Linked DNA regions of Homo sapiens: region 2 is linked to region 1. Evidence: promoter capture Hi-C in 16 types of primary human blood cells and fetal thymus (Javierre and others, 2016). All regions are on one chromosome and are shown on one strand. Each heading gives the region's core, a stretch centred on a gene start or on the middle of the fragment in contact. The rest is flanking DNA. Distances are from core to core; before and after follow the strand shown. Region 1 holds the start of C10orf53 (chromosome 10 open reading frame 53). Region 2 holds the start of SLC18A3 (solute carrier family 18 member A3).

Region 1 (6,888 bases), core at 3,096-5,595:
ATCAAAGATCTAAATTTAGGAATTATAAAACTCTTAGAAGAAAACATGGGGGCAAATCTGCATAATCTTGGATTTGACAATGGTTTCTTTCTTTTTTTTAGACAGAGTCTTTTGCTCTGTCACCCAGTCTGGAATGCAGTGGCACAATCTTGATTCACTGCAACCTCGGCCTCCAGGGCTCAAGCGATCCTTCCACCTCAGCCTCCTGAGTAGCTGGGACTACAGGTGCGTGCCATCACACCCACCTAATTTTTGTGTTTTCTATAGAGATGGCTGGTTTCTACAAAAAGGGCTGGTTTTGAACTTCAAACCAGGCTGGTCTTGAACTCCTGGGTTCAAGTGATCCACCTGCCTCAGCCTCCCAAAGTGCAGGCATTACAGGTATGAGCCACCATGCCCAGCAGACAATGGTTTCTTAAACAGCATATCACAGGCAAAATAAGAAAAAAACAGATAAATTGGACTTCATTAAAATTAAAAATTTTGTGCATCAAAGGACACTACCAAGAAAGTGAAAAGATAATTTACAGAGTGGGAGAAAATATTTGCAAATCATTTATCTATTAAGGGTCTCATATTCAGAATATCTAAAGAAATTTTCCAACTCAGTAACAAAAAAAAGTGCAACCCAATTTAAAAAATGGGCAAAGGACTTGAACAGACATTTCTCCATAGACATACAAATGGCCAATAAGCACATGAAAAGATGTTCAACATCACCAATCATTAGGGAAATTTAAGTGAAAACCACAAGCTACCATTTCACACCTACTGCGATGGCTGTAATTAAAACCAAAGAAAATTGAAATCCTTGTGCATTGCTAGTGGGAATGTAAAATGGTGCAGCTGCTTTGGAAAACAGTTTGGTCATTCCTCAAAAAGTTAAATATAGAATTACCATATGACTCAGCAATTTCAGTCCCTTAAAACAAAGGGATTCAAACAGATATTTGTTTACCAGTGTTCATAACAGCACTATTCACAGTAGCGGAAAGGTGGAAACAACCCAAGTGTCTATCAACAGATAAACAGATAAACAAAATATGGCATATCTGCCACAAAAAGGAATAAAGTAGTATAATACATGCTGTAGCATGGATAAACCTTGAAATATTATGCTAAGTGAAATAAGCTACAAAGTAGATTGCAGGTTACCAGGGGCTGGGGGTGGAGGTGAGAGGTGAAGCCAGCTGGGCTTCTGGGTCGGGTGGGGACTTGGAGAACTTTTCTGTCTAGCTAGTGGATTGTAAATGCACCAATCAGCACTCTGTGTCTAGCTAGAGGATTGTAAATGCACCAATCAGCACTCTGTAAAATGAGCCAATCAGCACTCTGTAAAATGGACCAATCAGCAGGACATGGGCGGGACCAACTAAGGGAATAAAAGCTGGCCACCTGCGCCAGCAGCAGCAACTGGCTCCTGTCCCCCTGCGCCAGCAGCAGCAACTGGCTCCTGTCCCCCTCCACGCTTTGGGAGATTTGTTCTTTCACTCTTCATAATAAATCTTGCTGCTGCTCACTTTGGGTCTGCACCACCTTTAAGAGCTGTAACACTCACTGCAAGGGTCTGCAACTTCATTCCTGAAGTCAGCGAGACCACGAGCCCACCAGGAGGAACAAACAACTCTGGATGCACCACCTTTAAGAGCTGTAACACTCACCGCGAGGTCCCTGGCTTCATTCTTGAAGTCAGCGAGACCATGAACCCACCAGAAGGAATAAATTCTGGACACAGAGGGATAGGGTGTTGTTGCTTAAGGAATACAGTTTCTGTCTGGGGTGTTGAAAAATTTTAAAAAGAGAGAATAGTGATGGTTCCACAACATTGTAAAGATAATTAATGTCACTGAATTGTATGCTTAACATGGTTAAAATGGCAACATTTTAAATATATGTTTTACCCACGTTATTTTTAGAGACAGTGAACATAAACTAAAGGTAGATTATGAGGTGAGGGTGGGTAGGTGTGGCTCATCAGAGGGGGAGGAAGAGAAAAGTCACTTATTTAGGCTGTCTTCTTAGCCAAAACTACAAAACATTTTAAACATCACCATGCAACACTGCTAGGAATTGAATTGTTGCCCCCCTTCCCCCAACTTCATATATGGAAGCCCTAACTCCCAATGTGACTACAGGTGCTTAAAGAGGTAATTAAGGTTAAATGAGGTTATAAGGATGAGGACCCAATCTGATAGGATTAGTGTCTTTCTTCTTATAAGAAGAGACACCAGTGAGCTTGCTCCCCGCTCTCCCCATATAATCCCACCAGGTGAGGACAAAAGAGAAGGTGGCTGTCAGCAAGCCAGGAAGAGCGCCCAGAGCCCTCACCAGAAGCTGACCTTGCCAGACCTTGATCAGGGACTTTTAGCCTTTAGACTGAAAAAATATATTTCTATTGTTTAAGTCCCATAGTCTATGGTATTTTGTTTTGGCAATCCCAATAGACAAATACAAACATGGAGGTATTTGCAACAGAAATTTCTCTATCAACTGTTCTCTCACAGAAAGTAACTTCCTCTGCTGATTGAAATCCTACCCATCCTTCAAACTCAAACTCAAATGCCATCTCTTCCAGGAGGCTTTCCCTGATTGCTCAGCTAAAACTAATTTTTGTGTCCTTAGGCTTCAGGGTATTTTGCCTGGAAGACTCTTAGTTTGGGTCATAGGATGGGAGTTCATCAATGGTCATTCCTGGGCTCTCATCTCATTCTATATGTTCTCTCCAAGTCAATGACTCACATCTTTCTATCTCCATTTCAGACTTTTTCTCTGAACTCCAGAACAACAGAGCTGATTCAGCACCTCTGTCTAGGTAGCCGAAAGCACATGAAGCTTAATTCAGATGCTCCTTGACTTATGATGGGGCTAGGTCCCAATGAGCCCACTGTAAGTGGAAAGTGGGCTTAATACCTGGATAAGCCCATCATAAAGTGGAAAAATCGTTAAGTGGAACCATTGTAGGTTCAGATGTGCCTCAACTTAGGATAGGGTTACCTCCCAATAAACCCATGCTAAAGTCAAGAAGTCTAAGTTGGGGACTATCTGTATGACCAAAATAGACTGTTCCTTTGGAACGATTCCACATATTCCTCCAAATTTTGGTCCATCTTTGGTGTCTTTGATTTTAGTGGACAGTACATCCATCCATCAGCACTGTTTCAAGTCAGACACTGATTAGATCCGGATAACATTCTTTTTACCCTTACCTCCCACCTCCATCCTCTCAGGAAGTACCATTGCTTTCACTTTGATCCATGGTCTCCTTTATGGTCCAAGCTACTCTCATCTCAGCCCTGGACCACCCCAACAGACTTGTCTTCCTTGTTTCCACTCTTGCCCCCTCTAATCTGTTCTCCTCAGAGCAGCAACAGCTTCATCCCCTGCCTAAAACTTATCTGCGGCACTGCAGGATCTGGCCTGATTACCTCTCCAGCCTCATCCCCCATCAGTTTAACAAATATTAATACATCATTTATTGAATGCCTCCAGCCATTGCCTATATTATTAGTCCCTCTGCCTGGAAGGCATTCCTCTCTTTACCTGGTTAGTTTCTACTCATTCTTTAAAGGTCTACTTAAATGTGGGCTCATTTAAGGCTCCACTTAAATGAGCCTTTCCAGACCTCTCCCTCTCCCCTCCCATTATGGCTAGTCACAGGTCCCACTGTGGTTAGCTCCCATGGCACCACCTAGCCTCAGTCAGAGCTTAGGCACAGCTGTCATTTAGCAGTTAACAAGGAGATTACTTCAAGGACATTCATCACTGTTTAACAGTGTGTCCTCAGTCCCTGGAAGGGTGTCCAACACACACTGCGTGCTTAATAAAAGTCTGCTGCATGAACGATTAAGAGATGGAATACCAGCAACGCTACTTCCCAGCCATTTGAGTTGTGAAAGTCACTTAATATTCTTGATCCTCAGTTTCCCAATTCTTAAAGCAGGGTTATGTAATTTTTTCTATGGAGGTAATTTCTGTAATTTGCTGGGCACTGGGTGGGCCCACAGCTCACTCTTGGATAGAAGAGCCTTCCCACTCTTTTAGCCCAGCCCTGGAAGCCATAGGTTGCAACATCATCCTGGGGAAGACTTCCTGGAGAGGTGGCGCTTCGTGGGGGTCTGAGGAAGGCCTAGGCACAGGGCACCACCTGCACGGATGCTCAGAGGCTGGGGCCCTCAGGGGCGCACGCGGCGAGGAGGCCCACCTTGCAGGCCCTGCAGGCGGAAGGTGTGGTGCTCCACCGGTAGGCCTGCCGCGCTGTAGGGCCCATAGCGCAGGATGACCACTGCGTTCTTGGGCATCGCCAGGCCTCCGCCGCCGCAGAGGCAAGGGAGAAACACACGCTGCTAAGCAACCTCTCTTCCGGCCCGGGCGCGTGGGCGTCGCTACGCGCCGGGCGGGGCCGGGGTGGCGCTAGGGGATCCTCCCGGCCCCAAGCTGCTCACGTGACCCTCAGCGCCTGGTCCGCAAATACGCGCGTTTGAGCTGGTGTGGCAAGTGTTAGTGATAAATAACAGCAGCAGCCAGGCACAGTAAGTTCGTGTCAGGCGGCGTGCGAAGCATTTTCCCTGCGTTATCTGGTTGAATCAGTTTACCATCCCTAGGAAGTATTTTATGTTTTTTGTTTACAAAACCGAGGCTCTGGGAGGGCAAGTTGCGGTCCCAAGAGTGACAGGGGTGTAGTATGGATTGGAAACCCTTGCATTTCTTCTATTTTCTTGCCTCTTTTTGATTGATTGGGAGTATTCGTTCATCATTCTTCTTCCCCCACCTTCTTCCCCCGGCCCCTTCTGTCACCAGTTAGGCTATTTGGTGGAGCCAAAACTGAATTCGTCCAATTCCCTTTTATTTGCTCAGTTCTGCTCATTGGAATTTGGACATAAAAGACATCCACCACTTCTAGGCATGGCTCCTAAAAAGTCTCCTCCACACCTGCTGTCTCCCTCTTCTTATCGGTAGCCAGATACGGGATCCCAGGGAGGACCCGAGGCTCCCGGGGAGACAGACCCAAAACGTGGGAGGAACCTGGACCACTGAGTAGCTGCGCCGAATAGAGCCCCACCCATCTGCATTAGTTGGTGACCGAAGCCAGAAGGAAACATTTATTCCATAACCACTGAGATTTTGGGGGTTGTTTATTACAGAAATTAGCCCAACCTAACAATCGCAATACCCTTGCGATTACAGCATTTCTTTACTTTCTAAATATTCAATTGTAGTTGATATTTTTACCCTCCTTTTGAACAGTAAAGGATTTTAAAAACCCTTTCCCACTAATTCTCCCAACGTATGCTACTGTGTATTTTAATTCTCTCCACGTGTACAGTATGTTCTATGATACATATTTCTTTGATGAGAATTAGTTTATACACGATTGTTAAATAGAGGAATGATATCAGCAGAATTTTGACATTATTATGGGTCATACATAATTTCCCCCAGCACTTGAGTTTCGCACCATCGGACAAGAACCACTGAATTCACCAACACAGCTGAACCCAGCAGACTATGGAGGAAGGCAGGACTGTACATGATGTCATTATTCATCCTCTTGGCTCTATGTGGTTACCTGTCTTGTCTTAGAAGGACTTATTTTCTGGTTCTCTATAAACTTTGTACACGTCTTTAAAGGCAAAAATCCTCTACTCACTGTAGTGTTTTTATTAATTAGAAATTTAACGTTGTTTTAACTTTGCTAAAAGTTTTGTATGAATAGTTGTTTTCCGTTACTCTTCTGTTTTCAAGACCGCTTATGTTTCTTTATCTCTTGCTTTCTGTAGTTTTACTGTAACAGTAAAGGATTTAAAAAACCCTTTCCCACTAATTCTCTCAACGTATGCTACTGTATATTTTACCTCTCTTGGGATTTGTTGAGATTCTTGAAACTGAATTAAAGTCCTTCATCAGTTTTTGGAAAAGTTTGAGTCATTATTTCTTCACATATTGCTTTTGTTCCATTTTCTCATTCTCAGGGACTCCAGCTAGGTATATGTTAGACCTTCTCATTGTAATCTGCATGTGTCTTCTCTGTGCTTTTCTCTTTTTTCTTCTTCCATACTTCTTTTGGGGTTGTATGTATACACGTTTGTATGCATGCATTCATTCATTTTTACCTGTAATCCAGTCTACGAATTTTCTTTTTGGCTCTTAACTGAGAAGAAAAGCCAGGAATTTGATTGTTTATTCCAGTTATATATTTTTCAATTCTAGAATTTTAGTTTGTTCTCTTTTCAAATCTGCTGTGCCACTTTCAGTTTCTTCCCAAGTGTTTTAGGTTTGGCTTTATCTCCTTCATTGTAGTAAAGATAGGTATTTTATAGACTGTGTTTGAGAATTCCATTGTTTGGAGAACCCATGTGTTTGTCCTGCGGTTTATTATTTCCGCTGGTTTCTACGCATTTTATCTTGTCTCCTAGAGTTCTGGTTTATTTTAATTGTGTGCTGGACATTGTATTAAAAAAGTATTTGTAGAAACAATTTGAGGCCTAAGATAGTATCTTCCCCTATAGAAGATTTTAAAATTTACTTCTTGTTAACTCCTACTTGTACCAACCCAGGATCATCTTCATACAGTTTCAGAGTTTGAGATTTTTCTGAGCCATCCAGATGACTCAAAACTGGGCTACAGTCCATTTGGAGATTGGTTGATTTATATTTAATCCTAATTCCTGTGGTGCAGTCCTTTGGGATCCTAACTTAAGGAGGGTGGTGACTTATCAGGGTTTCCCCATCCTTGGTGGTGCCGGACTCCAGTTCTTGTACCCTCTACATCTGCAAGGACTGAAAAAATGCAGGTCATTCTCTAGACCGCCTATTCAAGAGCACTAGATAGCCCTGGGGTAAGAGAAGCCCCAATGCTATGCTTAATTACTCTTGCTCTCTCTCTAATTT
Region 2 (6,315 bases), core at 240-2,739, 69 kb after region 1:
GGGTAGCGCGCCGCCAGGCGCACGGTGAGGTAGACGCCCAGCACATGAGGCACGAAGGCCGGCAGCCAGGCCATGCCCATCTCCCACTCGGAAGCCGCCATCGTATGCTTCATCCACGTGGCAATGGTGGGTTCGAGGAAGGCGAGGGGAATGTTACAGGTGGTGAGCGCGCCGGCCACCACGGCAATGTAGGGGTCTAGCATGAGGCGGTGGATGGGAGTGCCCACTGGCAGGTTGGCCCGAGCCCGTGCAGCCGCCGAGAAGGGTTTGGCCACTGCCAGCAGCAACAGCGCGTCAAAGAGCGACACGGCAGCTAGCACCAAGAAGGGCACGCGCTTGCCGGCGAACTCATAGAGGATGCCCCCGAAGGGCGGGGCCACTAGGCTTCCGAAGCTAATGAAGGCCAGCGCCACGCCCAGTGCACGACTGCGCTCCGGCTCCTCCGGGTACTTATCGGCGATCATGGCTATGCCAGACGTGTCGGCGAAGGCTGAGCCCAGGCCCTGCAGGCTGCGCGCCGCGAACAGCGTGGCGTAGTCCTCGGCGAAGGCGAACAGGACTGTAGAGGCGAACATGACGCCCAGGCCGATCAGCAGCGGCACGTCGTAGCTCATGCGGTCGATGAAGGGCCCGCTCAAGGGGTTCACTAGCAGCTGCAGGATAGCCTTGGAAGCAAACAGCACCCCGATCTTCACGTCTTCGCTCTCCGTAGGGTAGCGGGGCCGAAGGGCTGAGCCCGCTGGCCACGCAGCTGTCGGGGACGCCGAGGTGTTGGCCGTGTAGGCGCTGGCATTGGCCGGAGTGGGCAGCGGCAGGGTGGGCTCCCACACCTCGGGAGTCCGGGTGGGGCCCTCGCCGCCCCCGCGCATGTGGGCGATGTAGTCGGGCACTATGGGCACGATGACCATGTACAGCATGTTGTCCAGTAACAGCGCCACGCACACGATAACAAGCACCAGGCGCCTCTGCCGCCGGGGCTCCTGCAGCGCCGCGCCCACAGCCTCCGACAGCTTGGTGGCCGCCGCCCGGGCCTGGCCCGCAGGTTCCGCGGATTCCATGCCCCCACCCCGATGCTCTTCCGAGGACGCCTCCGCCAGGGCCGAGCGCTGGCGTCCCGCAGTGCAGAGGCGAGGGCACGGGACTTCGGGGAGGCTGTCCTGGCCGAGCAGACTCCCCTGTGCCTCAGGTGGCCGCGGAGCTCATGGCCCAGCGTCCCGGGAAAGGAAAGGACTCCGTCCGGCGAGGCGTTGCAGCTACTCTTAGCCGATCCCGGGACCCGCGGCTGCTGGGCTCAGGGGCGGCCGGGAAGTCGGGCGCGCCGAGGGGCCGGGGCCGGAGACTGGGCGCACTTCGCCCGGGGCGCGCCCAGAGCAGCCCCCGCCGCGCTAAGAGGCCGCCCGCGCTGGCCGAGGGACATGCTGTTGCCGCCCGCCCGCTTGCCCGCCCGTTAGCCCCGCCGCTGCGCTCCCCTCCCCTCGCGTCGGCTCTTGCCTCCTCCGCCGCCTCCTCTTTTTTTTTCCCTTCCACTCGGGGCTGTGACGCGGCGAGTCCCAGCCCCCGAGTGGTGCCCGGGCCACTTACGTCGCTCATGCTAATGCGACGTCGGCGGGGCGGGGGCCGGGGGCGGGGCGTGGCCGGGCAGGGGTCCGCTCTCCAGATGCTCCAGGGCTGGAGGCCCAGGAAGGGCTCTCGGTGTGGAAGTCTTGAACCAGCCCCTGGGATGGGCGTTCCGCGCCGGTAGCTGGCCCTCTGCCCCCCGCCCCCTGCCTGCCCCCCGCCCGCGGTTCTAGGACTCGCGGGGTCAGCGCCCGCTCTTCTCCTCTTGGGGAAGGGGGCGCGGCAGCCGGTTCCTCGAGGCCCCTTGGGAGAGGCGGGAGCCAGAGGCTTGCGATCTCCGCTTCAGCCTGGACCTCGGCGCACAGCGAGCAGGAAGCCCCCGAGGTGAGCCGCCGCTGCGTCCATCTGTTCTCGCAGCTGGATTGTGGAGCCGCGTCCGGAGGAGCGCTGGACACGGACACCCCCAACCCTTTCTCCGACTCCGCCCCCTGGCCCCTTGCACACACACTCCCGCCAGGAGGGGAGGGGAAGGCTCAGCAACTGCCTGGCCTGGCTCTGACCCACCGGCCCCTCCGCAGAATTTCTCGGCCGCGAATCGCGGCCGGGAGCTTGTGGGGACTGAGGGCAGAAGTTGCCGCGCCCCAGTCGGGGTCGCGAATATTAGCCTGGCCGCTGCCGCCCTCCCGCACTGCCTGGCCACATTCCCCTTGCCTGGAATCCCCCTTTCTCCTTTAGCGGTCTGGTCCCCCAGCTCCGCCTCTTCTCTCCCCGCCGCCGCACCCCCTCCCCACTCTAACTCCTCCCAGGCACTCTTCGCACCCGACCAAGCCCTCCCTCGGCTCCTGCCAGCCTCCGCCCCCTGTTCTGCACACTCCCCCATCCCTCATTTTCCAGAGCCTCCTCCAAGCCCCGGGTGGGCTCTGGAGTGACTGTGGCTGGGGTCCTCTCTTGGAACTGTAAGAAACCCTTCTTGGGTGCCGCGCCCACTCCCCGGAGAGCGCCCAGCCGCTTCGCTGTCGTCAGGGGCTCCAGGGAGACTCACCTTCCTTCTGAGAGGGCCGCACCCCTTGAGGCGCCCGTGCTCAGCTGACAGGCTGAGCTGCCCAGGCTGTGCGCTGGGCCTGACGCGTCCCCAGAGCGGCGTTGACCCTGGATGGCACATGGAACCCGTGTTCCAGTGGGCGGACTGGCGGGAGAGAGGCTCCAGGGCGGCTGAGGTTGGAGGTGGGGATTGTGTTGTTGAGATTACGGTTTGCGTCTCTCTTCCAGAGTCAGAGGGGAGCCTTCCCATTTTTCTGGCCTCAAAAGTAAAGCAGCATTAGACGCAGATGCTTCTCCCATTGTGCCCCCCACCCCGCAGGAAGTGCCGCGATGCAGTGCAAAGAGTGTGGTCTTTCGAGGCAGACAACCAGGATGGCTCCCAGCTCTGCCACGTACTCATTAGAGTACCTGCAGGGAATTACTTTGCCTCTCTGTCCCTCAGTTAGTTTCTTTGTAAAATTGAATAATAATAGTACCTACTGCTAAGGGGGCCGGGCACACAGTAAGAGCAGTATAAGGACTTGCTATGTTGTTATCGTGTGTAGAATGTGCGGTTTATCCTCATTTTTCACTTGTGGGTCTTGTGAAGAACAGATGAAAGACACAGGGGGCACTTGGCTAGCTGGCTGATCCCTCTGGCTAGGTGGGCATTGTGACTCCAGGCTCTGTCTGGGTTGGTGGAGGACCCGGAGGGCATTGGAATGTCTCCATCTGTCCCTGAGATGGCTGTAGGATGAGGGGATGGGGACCAATGTGTCAGGGTGAGAGGCGGCAGCCTGGCCACCTGTTGCTCAATTCCTTCACCCACCCAGTCACCCTGGGAAAGGAGAAACTCATCCACTGAAGGGCTGCTGCCACCTGCTCTGCAGTGACTGAAGTGCCCTCTGTCTGAGGGAGGAAAAGAGTCCCAATGTGGGCACAGGCCTGGCCCTGGATGACCTTGGGCAAGTCACAGCCCCTCAGTGGGGCCCAGCCTCAGCCTCCGTCTGGTTCAGGTTGAGGTGAGAGCCCACTCACTGCAGCCCTTAGCAGAAGTGCGTGCTGCAGAAGACTCTTTGGAGTGGGCTAATTATTTTAAATTGTATTTGATGGCCTTTCGTCAGTACATGCACACTCTCCAGCACATCCCAATCTCGCCCCAGCTGACTTCACACACTTATGCCACTTGCTGGTTCTCCAGTCATTTCCGTTTGAGACCTCTGGGCTCTTCTGACTCTCCCATTATGAGGCTCTTAAAGGGGCAGTCTCCCAGCCTACAAAACAATTATTATTTATGCACATGCTATTTCCCCTGTCTGATTAAAGAAAGGAGGAAGGAGGACTTGAAGGACAATTTTTTTTTATGTCTAGTGGCTGAAGAACAGAGGAATCATAGAGGACAGGAACTTTCCCAGGGCCTTCAAGGTGCAGACCACATCTCCAGCCCTCTGGCCCACATGGCTGTTCCTGAGCATGAAGCCAGGTATCTCTGGGCTCATGACTAGCTCTCCAGTCCTCGGTTCCTGTATGGCAGGAGGCACACTCATTTATTACTTGCTTTGTGCCAGGAGTATTGTGTGTGCTGTTTTACTCCATTCTCCTGCAATCCTGGTGCAGTGTAGGTGCTATTCCCCTGGTCTTATCAGGTGAGGAAGCTGGGCGTGGAGATGCTGGGTGCTTGCCCAAGCTCCCAGCAGCAGATCCTGGAATTAAACCCAGGCTGGGGGACCTGTCTTGTGGTCCTCACACTGCTTCCCTATTCCCGGCACGGCGTCGTGCTCCTGCTGCTCCATCTCCAAGGTGGCCGCACGCTGGCAGTGTAGGGGTGAGGAGCAGATCAAGACCCATGGGAGGAGGAAGGTCCTGGGCTGGCTCCCTAAGGAGGCTCCAAAGACACTAAACTCCCTCATTCTCTAACTTTCAGATCAGAGGGCAACGCCCCCCCAATCCATCGTGGCTCCAAATACGGGAGTGCCGGGGTTGCAAGGAGGCGTCAGGCCCCTGCAGCAAAAGGCTACGGGAGGGTCTGAGCCGAGATGGGACCTGGCAAAGCCTCTTCTCCCCGCCAGCCGCCGGGAGCTGTCCAGGGTGCTGGCCCCGGCCCCACCGCAACCAAGAAGCCTCCCACGGAGGCCCCGCCCCTCTGGCTTCCTCTTCACTTGAACGCTTGGTAAATTCCTTTCCGGACTCCTCTATCTGAGCATAACTTGCAGGCAACAGAGAACTTCCTGTCCAATCCTGTAGGAGAAAACGGAAGCATTTTTCTCTCCTTTCTCAACCAGAAATAGCAGCTGTTAGGGCAGCGTTCATATCTGGTACTCAATTAAAGTTGAATGAGTAGAGGAAGGAAGGAACGTATTTACTAGACACATAGTAGAGCTTATAAGGCATCAGGCACCGTTCTAAGCATTTGATAAGCACTAACTCATTGAATTCTCTCACCAACCTTCATATTACTTTCTTATAGGCAAAGACACTTAGGTAAAGTAATGTATTCAGTCAGAGAGCTCACAAGTGGTAAAGATGGGATTCCCATGCAGGTGATTTAGTTCCAGCTTCCTGCTCCCAGCCACCATGTGGCCCTGCTGCAGGATGGCTAAAGACTGCGAGATAGCTCACTTGAACATGTCTAGCCCAATGCTTGATACCTAGTAGGAGTTTAATTGTTATTATTTTATATGGATAGAGACAAATTGGTGATTTCTAGCTGACAACACTTCTTCTCATTTTATCCACAAGATACAACTGTGTCCACAGTCTGATGGACTAAAATTTCTTCCTTGCTGGATCAGTGCCCTGTCAGGGGAGGGGGGCTTGCTGGGGATGGGGGAGTCCTGGTGTGTGGGAGTTTGGGAGGGGTGGAAGGATAGCCATGCTGCACCAGTGCCTGGGTGAGGTCTAGGGGGTGTTTGGAGGTCTTGGGTGGGTTGTGGTGGTGGGGTGCTGCTGTGGATGGAGGTGCCAGCCCAGCCTGGCCTCATTTCTGAGAAGGTTGTGGGGCCATGTCATTTCCAGGGCTTTGCCATTTGTTGCTTCCCTGAAACATCTGGTTCCAGAGAGGTGAAACCACTGTATTTCTGTGGAGAAGCAGGCTGGTGTTGGTGATGGCAGTGTGTGGGTGGGGCACCTGCTCCTGATTTATTATTTCTTTGTCTCTCTGGAAGCACTTAAGCACAGGCTTCGTTCCAATCGAGCTCATGAGCCTCTCTGGATTCCAGCACTGGGGGCTAGGGGTGCAGTTTGCTCAGGGCTCCATAACCCATCCCCTGTGCACCGGCTCAGGCGGGCCTCAGCATCATTTAATTAATTTAGGCTTCCCCAGTCATATATTCTCAGATTCAAAGGAACAAAGTGGCCCCAGTCAGCCTTTCCCAGAAACCTGTGAGTGTGGTGGCTGGAAGCCAGAGGACTACGTGCCTGCCTGCCTGCCCTTGGCCAGCCTGTCCTCGGTGCCCAGACTTGCTTTGTGCACAACATAGCTGGGCTTCGAGAGGGAAAGAGACTGCAGGTGCTGCTTTGTGGGTGGGCCCCAGGGCTCCTCTCTACAGCTCCCAGGGACAGGACCTTGCTCACTTGCTTTTTTTCTGGCTCCCTGACACTAACTATGAATCATTCGTTGGAAGCATGGCCTCCAAATCCCTTTGGTTTCTGTTCTCTCCACTTTCTTTCCGTCTCAATCCAATTAATGTCTCAGATTCATTTCCCTCCTCCATTGAGACCACTCCCTGCCTGCCCCCA

What was found. The method cuts DNA at HindIII sites, captures the fragments that hold promoters and counts their contacts. A CHiCAGO score of 5 or more calls a contact.
Region 2: the fragment with the promoter of SLC18A3 here is called in contact with the fragment with the promoter of C10orf53 in region 1 in 3 of 17 cell types (fetal thymus, total CD4 T cells and megakaryocytes); the score reaches 6.1 in fetal thymus.

Annotation. Positions count from the first base shown.
Region 1 is chr10:49,677,108-49,683,995 of GRCh38, reverse strand. C10orf53 (chromosome 10 open reading frame 53) reads right to left here and starts at 4,345. Exons shown (of 3, transcript NM_001042427.3): 1 at 4,202-4,345. The coding sequence starts at 4,298. The HindIII fragment of the contact is 5,886 bases long and covers 2,835-6,888 here.
Region 2 is chr10:49,605,484-49,611,798 of GRCh38, reverse strand. It overlaps SLC18A3 (solute carrier family 18 member A3), which reads right to left and starts at 1,489. Exons shown (of 1, transcript NM_003055.3): 1 at 1-1,489. The coding sequence starts at 1,058. It also overlaps a transcript of CHAT not described here. RefSeq lists enhancers at 1-517, 1,562-2,356, 2,357-3,152 and a silencer at 4,522-4,816. The HindIII fragment of the contact is 17,270 bases long and covers 1-6,315 here.